Regions from separate parts of the Homo sapiens genome. Here region 1 is linked to region 2. Evidence: promoter capture Hi-C in human tissues and cell types (Jung and others, 2019). All regions are on one chromosome and are shown on one strand. The core of a region is centred on a gene start or on the middle of the fragment in contact, and the rest is flanking DNA. Distances in the headings are between cores, read along the strand shown.

The links. Contacts are between HindIII fragments. The study calls those that stand out against the background at their distance.
Region 1: a fragment that was not itself captured here is called in contact with the fragment with the promoter of DKK3 in region 2 in 2 of the 25 tissues and cell types used here (adrenal gland and thymus).

What each region holds. Positions count from the first base shown.
Region 1 is chr11:12,117,181-12,123,685 of GRCh38, reverse strand. The region is part of intron 1 of MICAL2 (microtubule associated monooxygenase, calponin and LIM domain containing 2); the gene reads right to left. Among named protein-coding and RNA genes, the nearest start is that of MICAL2, 9.8 kb to the right of the region's middle. The HindIII fragment of the contact is 5,960 bases long and covers 1,497-6,505 here.
Region 2 is chr11:12,002,773-12,009,875 of GRCh38, reverse strand. It overlaps DKK3 (dickkopf Wnt signaling pathway inhibitor 3), which reads left to right and starts at 1,250. Exons shown (of 7, transcript NM_001018057.2): 1 at 1,250-1,506. The coding sequence starts at 1,294. RefSeq lists an enhancer at 2,063-2,998. The HindIII fragment of the contact is 8,758 bases long and covers 1-2,611 here.

The DNA of each region.
Region 1 (6,505 bases), core at 3,227-5,726, 110 kb before region 2:
TGAAAGCAGAATGTGTCTTAAAACCCCCTGAAACCTAACGATCTCTCCCGGGATGCAGCTGTGGCATAGCTGTCACCGCCTCACATATGGAAATTTGACTCATTCCTGGTGGCATATCTGAACAACCATGATCTAAAACATTTCAGGAGCCAATACTTTTAAGGACCATTTAAGGAAGGAATGTGAGTCCTGGTTGTTAACAAAAAAACTTTCATTGATGCCTTCTGGTAAAATCAAGAAAACACCAGAACTGACATAATGGGTGTCAGCAGCTGGAAAAAATTCCAGGGACAAGAGAGATGAAGAAATACATCCCCACCTGACTAGAAGAGAACAGTGAGTCAGAAAACCATGGACATTGATGAATCTCAGTCAAAAAGTGATTCAGAAGAGTTAGATTCTGAAAGCGAAGTTTTAGAAATGCCTTAACCAATTTACTTTTATATATATGCAAGAGTGATATAAAATAAAAAAAGTATGTCTAAAATCTTAAAAAATTCAGAAAATATAGAATAAAAATTTTAAGCAATGGCAAAGCATTGTGCCACAGTTTAATTGGCAGCTCTTTTTCTTTCTTGAGGGTACATGAAATAATGGTATATCTTTCAGTTGATGGTGTTAGAGATTTGATTAAAAAAAAACAATTTCTGAAGAGCTATTGGGTGGTAGACAGATTAGACCTACTCTCCATGGCACCCAAGGGGAAGAACTGGGACCAAATGCCAGAAGCTATAGGAAGCCATCAGGAAGGAGGAGTTCAAAGACAGGATGGATCACCTCCCACCTATAAACTCAGGCTAAACCACCACTGTGGAGTCAAGCATCCAGTGGGATTGATGATAAGGCTCTCCCAGACCTGCAGTTCCAAGGTTTATGAGAAGAACTTCTCACCAGGAAGCGAAAGGTGGCCCATCGTTCTTCACTGCACACACAGGTGCTTTGACTGAGCCATTCCCTTTAAAAAGTCATTAAAGGCAGGCCAGGCGCGGTGGCTCACTCCTGTAATCCCAGCACTTTGGGAAGCTGAGGCAGGCAGATCACTTGAGGTCAGGAGGTTGAGATCAGCCTGGCCAACATGGAGAAACCTTGTCTCTACTAAAAATACAAAAATTAGCCAGGCGTGGTGACACATGCCTGTAATCCCAGCTACTCGGGAGGCTGAGGCAGGAGAATTGCTTGAACCTGGGAAGCAGAGGTTGCAGTGAGCCAGGATCGCACTACACTGCAGCCTGGGTGACGGAGTGAGACTCTTGTCTTTAAAAAACAATTAAAAGTTATTAAAGGTAAAAGGCACTTAGGGGCCAGTACCGAATGAGAGGCCTGCGGCAACAAGGAACCCTGCCCACATCTGTGCTCCAAGGCTCCTGTGGGCCAATTCAGGAATGAGCCAGAGGGGAAGAGGCCACCTGCAGGCCACTATGTGCCAGGCACCATGAGAGGTGTGCTACGCCCATTACCCCATTTAATCCTCACAACCTCCCCGTGAGGTAAGTAGCATCACTCCCATTTTACAGAGAACAAACCCAAGGTTCAGAGATAGTATGTGTGTGGCTTGTCCAGTGTTTACAGTGACTGAAAACCCATGGTCTGTCTGTGACAGCATGCTTCAAATTGAGAGTACTCCAAAAATCTTGGCTGACAGAATGAATGCACTGAGCAATCAATTTATCAATCAGTGAACAAATCAGCTTGTTCTCATATGGGTAGCACTGATCCTAGGAGAAAAAAGAAAGCAAGCCCATTTCAGTGCCCCACCCCAAATCCCATCAATACCTCCCATCAATAGCACTAAACTCATTACATTTGCTGCTTGCGGGAACAATTTATTCCATCACATAAAGCAAAAGTGTCCCTGAGACATACATGGAAGAGAACAGGTGCCAGCCCCGCTCAAATGTCAAAGCTGAAAATGCACCAGGCTGTGGTGCCTCCCATCTGCCAGCTTAACACGGGAGCAGGCGGAAGCAGAGCTCAGCCTTTATCCACCTCCCTGTGGCCACGATGGCCAGAGGGCTGGGAGGCAACCAACCCCCTACCTGCTCCACCTGTCCAGGCCATTCAGTCCAGCTCCAGGTTTGCCAGCCTCTGCAAACTCTCTCTTCAACTAGAGAAGGAAACTCAATGTGCACACAGGAAACCCAGGGCAGGATGCACTTGAAGGGGATATTCAGGTGATTGTGAGGCTGTGCAGAGGAGAGAATCAGCATCATTCCAGATGATGTACAAATGCTCTGACAGCCGCTGACTCCTACAGAGCCAATTCTTCCAAAGGCGCTTTCTTTGGAGGAGGTGGTCAGCTGGGTTCCTGCACCATCCCAGCTTTGCTGCCTCCCTCACACACAGACAGGGAACTCCTGCTCCTGCTCCAGCAGTAGCCCCCAGAGGAGCTCAGCACCTCGACTGCCCTATTTATTCCCCTCAAATTGACCTTGAGTCAGGAGAAGATCCGTGTGAAGAGCTTAGCCCGCAGCGAGGTGGTGAAAGTGAAGCAGACGCTGTTTGCTACACAGAGTCAAGAGCCACCAAAGCTCAGACAGCCACACTTGGGTGTACAAGCTGCAGAATGTGACAGATGTCCCATATCCTAAGACCCTAACCAGGAGTTCCAAAAAGGGCTGCCCTCCTGATAAACCAAAGACAACATTTTGCTTGCAGACTCCCTTCACAAAGAAGGCTGTGGGTCAAAAGCCAGGATACAGACAAAGTCTTTTTGGGGGCCCAGCCTTACTGCCCCCCACCCTGTTCCCCACAGCCCTCCTCAGTCCAGGGGAATGGCAGCTGTCTGGCAGTGTGCACCTCCCGTGAACGGAGGGCAGTGCCCTGAAGGATGACTCTGACTATCCCTCTCTGACAGCTTCCCACAGTCCGCTGGGTTCAGTCCACACCCACACCGCCCCCAGAACTCAGGGCTCTCCATGCCTCAGAGCAGCCTGATTCCAGCCTCAGCTTCTCTAGGCAGCCCTCACGTTTCTACCACATGGTACCCTGACTGTGCCCTCACTTTTCTACATCTCTTTGTGCTGTTACCTCTGCCCATCTCTGCCTATGGAAATCATACCTATCTTCCAATACCCTTCTCAATCTACAAACTCCACCTCCTCCAGGAAGCCTCCCCTGGTTCCCCCCTACTGTGGGACTCTGTGGACATTCCATACTCTGTCTCGGTGTTCAGCCACAGGTGAGCTTGTCTAATGCACCTCCCTCCATGAGTTAGAAGAGCAGGCAGCTTCCACCAGTCATCACAGGGACTCTAGCCCAGCAGCTGCACACTGTGAGCTCCGAGCCTGGGCCTATGGCTGTTGATGCCCCCAGCACCCTATTTGCCATCTCTCAGGATTCCCTCCTCCTCCTGTTCCCAGCTGACTCATCCTATGCCCCATCCTCTTAAGGTTCAGCCCTTGGCTGACAGCTAATCAAAGATAAACTCATCTCTGTCAACATATGGTCCTTCCCAGTTAACTTCTGTATTTTTAACAAAGGGCTTCTGCGGACAAGGGCTAGGAACAAAGGTGGGAATTCTAAGCCCCAAGGCTCTGGGGGAGGTGTTCATGATAAGAAAAGATCTTGGGACTGAGACCAGCCAGTGCTACAAGCGTACACAGCATAAATTCAAAGAATGTGGGAGGTTTTAGAAAGGGAGGATGAGGCTCTGTCCTTCGGTACACGCAGCCAACTGTAAGCACAGCTGCCTTAGACTGATCAAGGACCACAGCCTGGTGGGAAATGGTAGATGGAAAAGAGACCTGACTCTGACCTGGCTGGGTGACCTTGAGCAAGAAACACACCTCTCTGTCCACTCAGCATCAGGAAGCATCCGAGTGTCAGTTTCTCCATAGGTAAAACAAGGTGGCCAGGATGAGAACTACACCATCCCATGAGGCCCATCCAACCTGACATCCCAAGGCTCTGTGACTCATGGCCTCTGTGGCCTCCTCCCTCCTGGGAGGTCAGTGTCATTTGAAACTACCCCACTCTCAAGCCCCACCTGAGTCCAAAGGGAAAGGGAGAGCTAGAGATCTCCCAGCCAATCCGCAGGCGGCCTATGAGGGCGGGCCTCAACCACTGCAGGTGGAAAGAAGGGGCAGAAGTGGGGGAAAGGTGTTGCATTCTATGCTCTCATTCATGCCATCTGTCTCGGCCTAGACAAAAGACAGTCAGCCAGTTGCCTTCACCTCCTTGGCCTACCTTTTTTAGAGATTACAACTGTCTGCTGAATTTAAGTGCTGCTCTAAAATCAGGACATATAAGGTCTCTCAGGCTGGATTTGAAGGGTTTCATAATGGATAGAGCATAAGAGCGATGAAGAATTAAACTTGGAGGCAATCTAAGCTGTATTGTGCAGCCATGCCAATTAAAGATCTTTAAAAATAGCCTCTCTCCTCTCATGCCGTAGATGAAGTTTCAGCAATAAACAGACATCTGCTAGGAGCTTCTGAAGAGATACAACATAAACACCCCAGAGAGCAGCCATAAACAGCCCACAGCACTCTCCAGGCGGCAGGCAGCATCCTGTTCACGAGGGGAGGAGGGGGGAACCCAGAGCCCAGGGAAACGGAGAAGAGGGTTCAGGGGTCAAGGGCAGAGGAGGAGGTGGTATCCAGTGGCTGGGAAGGATGGAGGTTGGCTCCCTACAGGAGGAGGAAGTAGTGGGGCCAACTCAACTTGGTAGAAAATGGAGAACTGGCTGCCTTCTGCAGGGAAAGAAAAGCTCAGGAACCCACCTAGAGGATTTTCAGAAAGCCATCCAGAGGACTCCATACCAGTGTCATTCATTCTGGCAATGGGTCACTCGTTAAATGTGAAAAAACAAAACAACAACAACAACAAAAACCCTGACATTTTGGAGTGCATATCCAGGCAAGGGACTTCACAAATATTTTAATTTCATCTCCAGATCAAGCTCTTGTAATAGGTATAATTACCTCCTTTATGTAGACTAAAATACTAGGATTCATTAACTCGCCCAAGGCCACAGGGCTCGGATTTGAGCCCAGGTCTGTCTTAGTGCTTTTTGTTTTTGCCTATGTCACCTGCATCCACAACATGCCCCTGAGGTTTATTCTCAGATTCCAGGCTCTTTGAACCCCCAAATCGAACACAAGGGGACTCCTAAAGGAGAGAGCTGGCAAAGTAGAGTGGAAGGGGAAATGGTTAGGCCTTGGCCAAATGAGACAATGGCCAAGTCTCTGCAGCCCTGTGGGCCCTGTCTCTTTACATCCTGGTTGCTTCTTCAGCAGGCCGCAGGAAGAGCAGAAGGGGAACAGGCACCAGGACATGCCTAGACTATGTCTGGAAGGATCCACAGGGGGCTGGGGACAACAGCTGCCAAAAAAGTAAGAACTGAGGGCTGGAGGACAGGGAAAGAAGGGAGATGTACTTTTCATTCAATTTCCTTTGTACTGAGTGGATATCTTACCGTGCATCTATGTGTGCGTGTGAAGGTAAGTCCTATGCATCTATGTATGTGTGGGATGAGTACCACACACATATGTATGTATGTGTGGGTAAGTCACTTTTAAGAAAGCCCAAGATACAAGATAACCAACACGCCCAAGCAAGACCTTCTAGGTCATCTGGTTGGGGCAAACCTGGAATCCAGAAGAAGCCTGAAATTTCACACAGTGCTTCCTCCTACTCCTCCTTCACAACAGTAATGTGTGGCAACTCCAGGCATGTGGCCGGGAAGCTCTCCCGACATGGACCCCATGGTCCCCAAGGCTCCAACTGCATGAGCCTCACAGGACATTCCCTGAAGAAAAAGGCTGAGTGAATCCTCTCCCTGAGGGTCTGGAAAGAGGTTGGAAATCCCCTTGTGTGTTTCTCTATTCTGTTTTCCTTTCATTTAGTCATCAGACAAATGATGTAGCCTCCTTCTTACAAGCAGGGAGATCCTGATCTTACTACCTTTGCATCAGATTGTGCAAAGCCTGGCTGTCCTGATACATGGAGCTGATTTGACAGCAGCCACAGACTCTACACACAGCACCCAACCCCCATTCTGCTCCTTTTGGATGAACAGTTGTCCAATGAGGGCTCAGCAACCAAGCCCCTGGCAGACCCTGGGCCCACTCTGTTTCAGAGGGCAGCTCTTGTTAGTGAGAGCTGCTTCTTCAGTCTCCCCTACACCTCATTATCCTGGCTCCAACACACTATATACTGAGATCCTGCAAAGCTTCACCAGATAAGTCAGTATTCAGATAAGTGGCCAGGGCCAGCCATTCAGAGTCGTGGGAACAAAGAAGTAGTTTCTGCACCTCAACATGTTGGTACTGCTGCAGCAAGGCCAGAACAGGGTGTTCTTAGACTCCCACTCGTGTCTCCAGCATGTGCTGGGCTTCCAGGCTGTGTGCGTCAAGACCTTAGGTCTGGAGATGTCCCAGAAACCTGCTGTTGCAGTGGCTCAGAGGCCAGGGACCACCGTCCAACCCCTTGCTGCCCTCCTCTTGCTGCCAGCAGAAAGAACATCTGCACTAGACATTCTCTCTTGCCCAGCAAAGGAGAAAAA
Region 2 (7,103 bases), core at 1-2,500:
GGAGCAGAGCTGGCTGCAGGTGTCTGGTCCTGACCACTCCTCTATGCCACCCTTGAGGAGCTTGCTGACTTTCTCATGACGTTCTCCCATTCCAGGAGCTGCAAGTGCGTTATCCTGGCTGGAGCACGGTGTCAATCACGGCAGACTAAGGCCAGCGGTGATGGCTTGAATGCCAGGCTGGGGGCTGGGATTTTTCCTGAGGATTTCACAGGACAGAGGTTGGCTTGGAAAGACCAAGGTGGGACTGAGGAACATTCCCCCTACCCCCAACCTCGGTGGGCTGTTGCAAGCCTGGAGGCCAGAGAAGACGGGCCTGGGATGCCGCGGGCGCAGGGGCAGGCAGTGAAGGAGATGGCTGCCTTCGGTAGAGCTGGTCGCTGAGGCAGAAGAGGAGGGCGTGGGGCGTGGGGCGTGAGGTGGCCGGCGCCCCGGCTGGCCAATGGCCGGGCTGCGGCCCCTCCGCGGGGCGGGGTGGGCCTGGTGGGCGGGCGGGGCTCGGGGCGGGGGCGGAGAGGGAGCCTGGTGGGCGGGCGGGGCGCGTCTTGCGGGCTCCCTCGGGTACCGGCGCTGCCGCACCCCGCCGCGCTCCCGCACCCGCGGCCCGCCCACCGCGCCGCTCCCGCATCTGCACCCGCAGCCCGGCGGCCTCCCGGCGGGAGCGAGCAGATCCAGTCCGGCCCGCAGCGCAACTCGGTCCAGTCGGGGTGGGTGAGGGGCGGCGGCGGGGGAGGGGACGACTCTGCTGAGCTCAGCCTCTCTTGGTGGATGTGGGGCGGGGCGCTCGAGTAGGACCCGACGCCAAGGGGAGGGGGCTGACCTGTGCTTGGTCCACCCCAGGTAGGGGCTGAGAGAGGCTTGAGGTGGAAGTGGGGGTCGGGCACTCTGACCTGGTCGAGGAGGGGCTAGGGTTTGAACCGGGGACAGAGTCTAGGTGAGCTGGGGCTTGGGAGCTATTAGCGTAGAGGATCCGGGTTCGGTTGCTCTGGCGAGGGCTCCAGCATCACAGGTGAGGAGCAGAGCTCAGCTTGTGCTCGAGGATGGGGGTGCGGGGTCCTGGGGCGATCGGGGCTCGGGCTGGAGCGGGTGGGGTCGCGTCTTTTCGGGTGTAGGGGAGCTGCGTTTTCAGGGGCCTCGGTTTCCTCCCGTCTCCGGGCGGGTGCGGGAAAGAGGGGCGCCAGGGGCGGGCGGCGGGGCGGAACGGGGCGGGGCGGCGGGCCCAGCGAGGGGGGTGGTCCGCGCGCCTCTGATCGCGTTCCGGGACACACAGGCGGCGGCTGCGGGCGCAGAGCGGAGATGCAGCGGCTTGGGGCCACCCTGCTGTGCCTGCTGCTGGCGGCGGCGGTCCCCACGGCCCCCGCGCCCGCTCCGACGGCGACCTCGGCTCCAGTCAAGCCCGGCCCGGCTCTCAGCTACCCGCAGGAGGAGGCCACCCTCAATGAGATGTTCCGCGAGGTTGAGGAACTGATGGAGGACACGCAGCACAAATTGCGCAGCGCGGTGGAAGAGGTGGGTGCGCCCTGGCGGCGCGGGGCTCTGAGAAGCGCCAGACTGGGGGCAGCGAAGTCTGGGAAGGCATGGAAGAGCGCTGGCCAGGGACCTCGGGTCCCGCGCAGGGCCTGGGAAGGGCCGACAGCAGATGCGGAGTGACCTGGAGGCAGCGCACGGTGATCCCTACTCCCGCCTCGTTTTGCCTCCTTGCCAAAAAGTCTGGATCTGAGCCTGTCCACCGAGAGGCTCTGCACTGGACCCTCCCTAGGTAGCTGGGGCCACCACCTGCCTGCAGTTGGCGTCAGGCATGCCGTTGGCCTTCCCTATTGTCAGCAGAGGTTTGCAGGGCCCCTGGTATTCCAGCACTGTGGTTTCACAGAAACCCGGGACAAGCTCCAGGCATCGCCAAGTTCTAGCTTGTCCGTTATGCTTTGAGCTTGTTAGGATGCCATGCAGGGACAAAGAGGCAAAGAGCCCTGAGCTTTGCTGGCAGTCTGTCTGGGCTGTCTTGCTTCTCACGCAATGTGGGGGCAGAGAGGGAAGATGGAAATCCTAAATCTCAGCACTGTATGAGTGGCGGATGAGGATGTGAGAGGCAATACCCCCTCCACCCAACGGTGCTTCGCAGTTGTCCTGGGCTCAGGTCCTCCTCTGCCACTCAGTAGCAGGGTGACATTGGGCAAATCACTTAATATCCTGCACCTCAGTTTCCTGTGAAAACTAAATGTCATATGTGTGGGCACCTGGCAAATAATAGGTGCGCAGTATTTAGCAACTATTATCAGATACCACGTACCTTAGCAAAGCTTTGCCTAGCTTCTGCCCTCCATCACCTCCAGGTCTAAACACTGTGGGTGGCATCTTGTTCTGTCCTCTGTGATGGTCACCCACGCATGCCCAGGGCTACCTGGGCAGGAGATGTCACTGGCCCAGCCCTCTCTGTCCAGGTGCGGGGAGCTGTCCCTGGTGCCTGGGGTGGGTAGACGAGGGCGCTGTTGGGCCCAATCTGTCTGTAGCCTGTGTCTATAGAGAGGAGCCAGCCGTCCTAGTGAAGGAGGCAGCAGGAAACCAATGTCCAGGCTGGTTGGCCCCTGGTCTGGCTTCACATCCCTGCTGTCTCCAGCTTGGTATCCCCCTTGGGCAAAGCCTTAACTGCTGGCCCTTGTCTCCAGGGGGAAGTTGCTTTCTCCCCGCAGCCCTTTGTAGTTTGGGGCTATTTCCCCTCCCACTCCACAACAGTTAGCCTGTGGAGTTTGCAGTGAAGGGGACACTGGCTTGGGAGGCAGTGAAATGGGCAGCTGTCCTTGAATATCCACTGGACAGGCCCAGATCCCAAGACCCATGATCTTTCTGTTTCCTGTGATTGCAAAACAATCATGACATGGAGCAATTAAAGGGTGAAGGGATTCAGATAGGCCCCAATGTCTCTTAACTCTGAAGCTTCAAATTAAGTGGAGTTTGCGATGCCTCTGGTTCTAGGGCAGGCCATCTGCTTTCCTTATCCAGGTTCTAGGACTTTCCCTCCTGCACACAGATTCCCGGTAAGACTGACTAAGTCACCTCTATGTTTTTGTGCCCACCACTGTTCAGAAAGTCTGCAGCGTGGTCCTCTGACGTTAGCTTCTGCTGAGGGAGGAGAGAGAGCAGCAAGGGCCTCTTCAGTCTCTTCTTGAGCAGAGCAGTGTGGGGCCCTGCAGGACCTAGTGACGGGGTCTTCTCCATGGGCGTTATCCAGACTGGATTTTGCCAAGACCCCAGCTTTCCTCCCTCTAGATGTGGCTCTGTGTAGGTTGGGGGGTTGAAGTTTGCCACCAGAGGAGATGTGGGCTGTCACTTCTACCCCACTCTTTCCCAGAGGTGTCCTCGCTGGCAGTGGGTACAGGATGAGAGAGGTTGAACACCATGGCAGGAGAAGAGGCAGTGGGGACTGATCTTCCCTCATCCAGTCCCTGCTCTGCCACTTACTGGCAGTGGCGTTCCGAGTCTGAAGTGGAGAAATGTCCACCTCTTAGGGTAAGGTGAGAATTAAATGAGATGCTGCAAGTAAAGCAAATCAGTGAGTTGGGCAGCTATCCCTGAATATCCACTGGTCAGGTCAAGAGCCCAAGATCCATGATCTTTGTTTCCTGTGATTGTGAAACTATCATGACATGGAACAATTAAAGGGTGAAGGGAGTCATATAGGCCCCAATGTCTCTTAATTCTGCAGCTTCACATTAAATTGAGCTTGTGATGCCTGTGGTTCTAGGGCAGGCCATCCGCTGACTGCCTAAAATGGGGTTAAGTAAAACACGTGTAATACAGGTAGCTTCATTGTGAGGTGGCTGTAAGGATGACATGATGGTTGGTTGTAAATAAGTAACAGGTATCATTATCATCATATTACTAGTAGCAGTATGAATGATAACAAAACACCACCAGTGTCTGATAGATTCTCAATAGAATCTATCTTTTAAAATATCTTAAACCATTAAAAATTAATCTTAAAATACTAAAAGTATCTTTTAGATATCTTCAAAAATAGAATACAATAGATTGTTTATAGACTGTGGTTATTAGTATTAACTTTTTATGGAGACTGCCAGAATGCCCCTTAAATCTCATAGACACAGGATAATTGGTATTTAGTCATTGTTCAGGGGAAAAATCAAAAAGGACCTGGGCCAGATGCATTATTTGTTTACATAGTTGCATCATGAATCTCCTTTCAAGTAACTTCCTGGCATTTTCAATGTTCCAGCTGAATCAAGCTGTTGAAGTTTCTTAAGGGGAAGGACAAAGCAGCTCTACTTGTACGGTCATTATTGGAAGAAGCATATCTTCAAATGGCTTCAATCTGGGATATTCCTACTTTCCTGTGTTACTATTCTATATGCTACCAATCAATGTATTCTGAAGATATAACCACTCTGTTTCTCTTCCCCTCATGGCCAGCTCTGTAACTCACTCATTTTAGAATGTTCTTACTGCCTCACCTATTTCTAGTATAAGTGCCATTTTTAATAGCATTCACATTCCTCCTCTACGAAACAGCTCCTTTTGCTTCAGACTTAAGTTTCTCTTGCTAGTGGCAATAATAGTTGCGGTTGAAATTTCCATTGTAAACTATACTTTTAGTTCATGGTGCCATTTAAGAACCGTTAGCTCATTCTGTTGAAATAACCAGTGGCTGAGCTGGGGGGAAAAGTTTTATAAAAAGACTATCTGCTCAGCCCAGAGCAAATTCTAGGTTTGGCAACTTGTCAATTATTTGAAAGCCAAACTGATCCCGATGGGAATTTTAAAAACACTAAAACATTCTCTTCTTCTGGGTGGGTCCTCTCCAGCACCTTCAGTCTTCTCTTCCCAGCTGCGTTTTTTTCTATCACTAACCAGAGTGGTAACTGAGGGCAAGGTCTCTTGCTTTTAAGGAAAGTCATTTTCTTGCCCATTCTGTCTTCTATCTCAGCCCCATTTCTTCTCCCCTTTGTTGGCAAGCTCTTCAAACACATGATATCAACGTTTGCTCTTCCTGCTTCTAGCTACCCATTCCCTTCAGAACTCTGGCAAAACAAACTGGCTTCTTTTGAAACTGCCTTCTTAAAGGGCAACGGGATAAAAACAGCTGTGTATTTCATCTTTGCTGTGTGGCAGATAGTGTATTTCATGCCTTAATTCTTATATCTACTGCATGGTCCTTAATTCTTATATCTACTCAACAAAGTAGGACATCCCTATTTTACAAATGAGCAAGCTGAGGTTTAGTGGGATTTGGTATCTTGCCTAAAGTCATACAGCTACTTTGTGGCAGAGCCAGGACTTGAACCCACCTTGTCTGACTCCAGAATCCTGGTACTTTCCACTGTGTTCCTCTCCGAGGATGCTGCAGGCAATGACTTGACTCATCCAGTGGCCATCTCTCAGTGGCTTGATCCTTCTAGACTTACTTAGAGTCTTTCCCACCTAGAAGGTCCCTACCCAGAAGTAGCTCCCATCTCCTAGACCTAATTCTAGCCAGTTTCCTGACTCCCCTCTCTTTCTGATCTACTCTTTATATTATTTCCCGCTAGCCTTCTGGAACTTGCTGTAGTTCCCTATTGCCTGGAACGGAGATTCTTAACTGGGGATCAGAGGGAGGGGAGGGAAATCCTCAGAATAAGCTGAGAAGCTCAGTATTATCAGGGTCTCATCTCTAGAAATCCCAATTCAGCGGGTCCATGAAGGGATCCAGATATTTCAATTTTTTAAACTTTTGGACCTGACTCTATAATCACAGCTTCCCCATAAGGTTGCTGTCAATATTCAAGGCATCTGGTGCAACGATTCAGACATAGTCAATGCCCCAAACGTGGGGGCTATTCTTAGAATTATTATTGTTATGAAGCCAGTGATCAAGTTTCAAACATCTCAGCAGCCATCTCAGAATCCAGCACAGAATCCGGCCACTGACTAAGTCCTTGTTGAGCCTTTCTGCCTACCAGGTTTTATTCACACTTTGAGTTTAGTGTTTTTGTGTTGCATTGAGACATGAGGATTCTTTCCTCTTATCCTCCTCAGCTCAGCAAACCTGGTGGTTAAAGCAGGGGCTCATCTAGTACTTAAGGGGATAGAGGACAGTGATTTTTTTAAATAGGAAAATACTTTTTGAGCATTCTTTTTTTAAAAAAAAAAATAAAAATAGCCCATAGTCAAAAATAGCAGTGTTGGAAAATTGCCAACTATCAGGTAGAACTTCTCTTTATGTCTCTCATTTGAAATTCCTAGAGAGAGTATCTGATTGGCTCAATTAGTCTATGATGTGGCCTCCCTTTGGGTCCCATCAGCTGTGAACAGGTCACATTGTCAACTGCCCACTCATCAGGGCCAGGACAGGGTGATAAATCTGGAAGGGGAAGTTGGGTGCAGATATGAGGTCACTGACATATCTGGTATAGATGTTATGGAGGATCATGAGCCTGGAGGATTTGAGGACAGCGGCCACAGAAACCTGACACCAGAGAAGAACATATGTCTAAGAAAACCAGAAGGGGTGTGGACCCCGGGAACTGGTTAACTGACCCTCTACAAGGGTCCCTCTGCAAGGATTTCCTACAAGGGTACCCAAGAGGCAGGGTGGGGAAGGAGACACAGCTGTGGCCCTACCTACAGGGAGTAAGTTTAGGTTCCCTCCATCCCCTGCCCCTACCACCACCAACAACAGGTCCTGCCACAAGGACTTAAGAGCAAATAGTGCATTTGGGATGTGCTCCCAGAAAACACTAGCAGGAAGTGGGAAAGTGTGATGAAAGAAAAGAAAGACAATCAACGGTATGCCTGCAAGCAGGTTACTGCTGCGGGCATCTAGGGCTCCATCCCACTGGAGGCCTTAGAGGGAGACTACGTAGATTCTACATGCTTTAGAATTGTCTAGCGAAGGGAGAAGCTAGACTGTTTACCTCCATAGCCTGACTTTCATTGCTAGGATGTTAACTCCCTAGCACTTGGGGCCTCTGCAGACTGAGCATACTTTGGTGACCAGAGAATGCCCTTAGAGAGAGACAGAGTTGGTTGTTGGCATGTATGGGAACTGGATACAGGTGACCTCCAGATTAGGCCACCAGGAGATGGGCAGGGCATCAACAGCGTTTACACAGGGA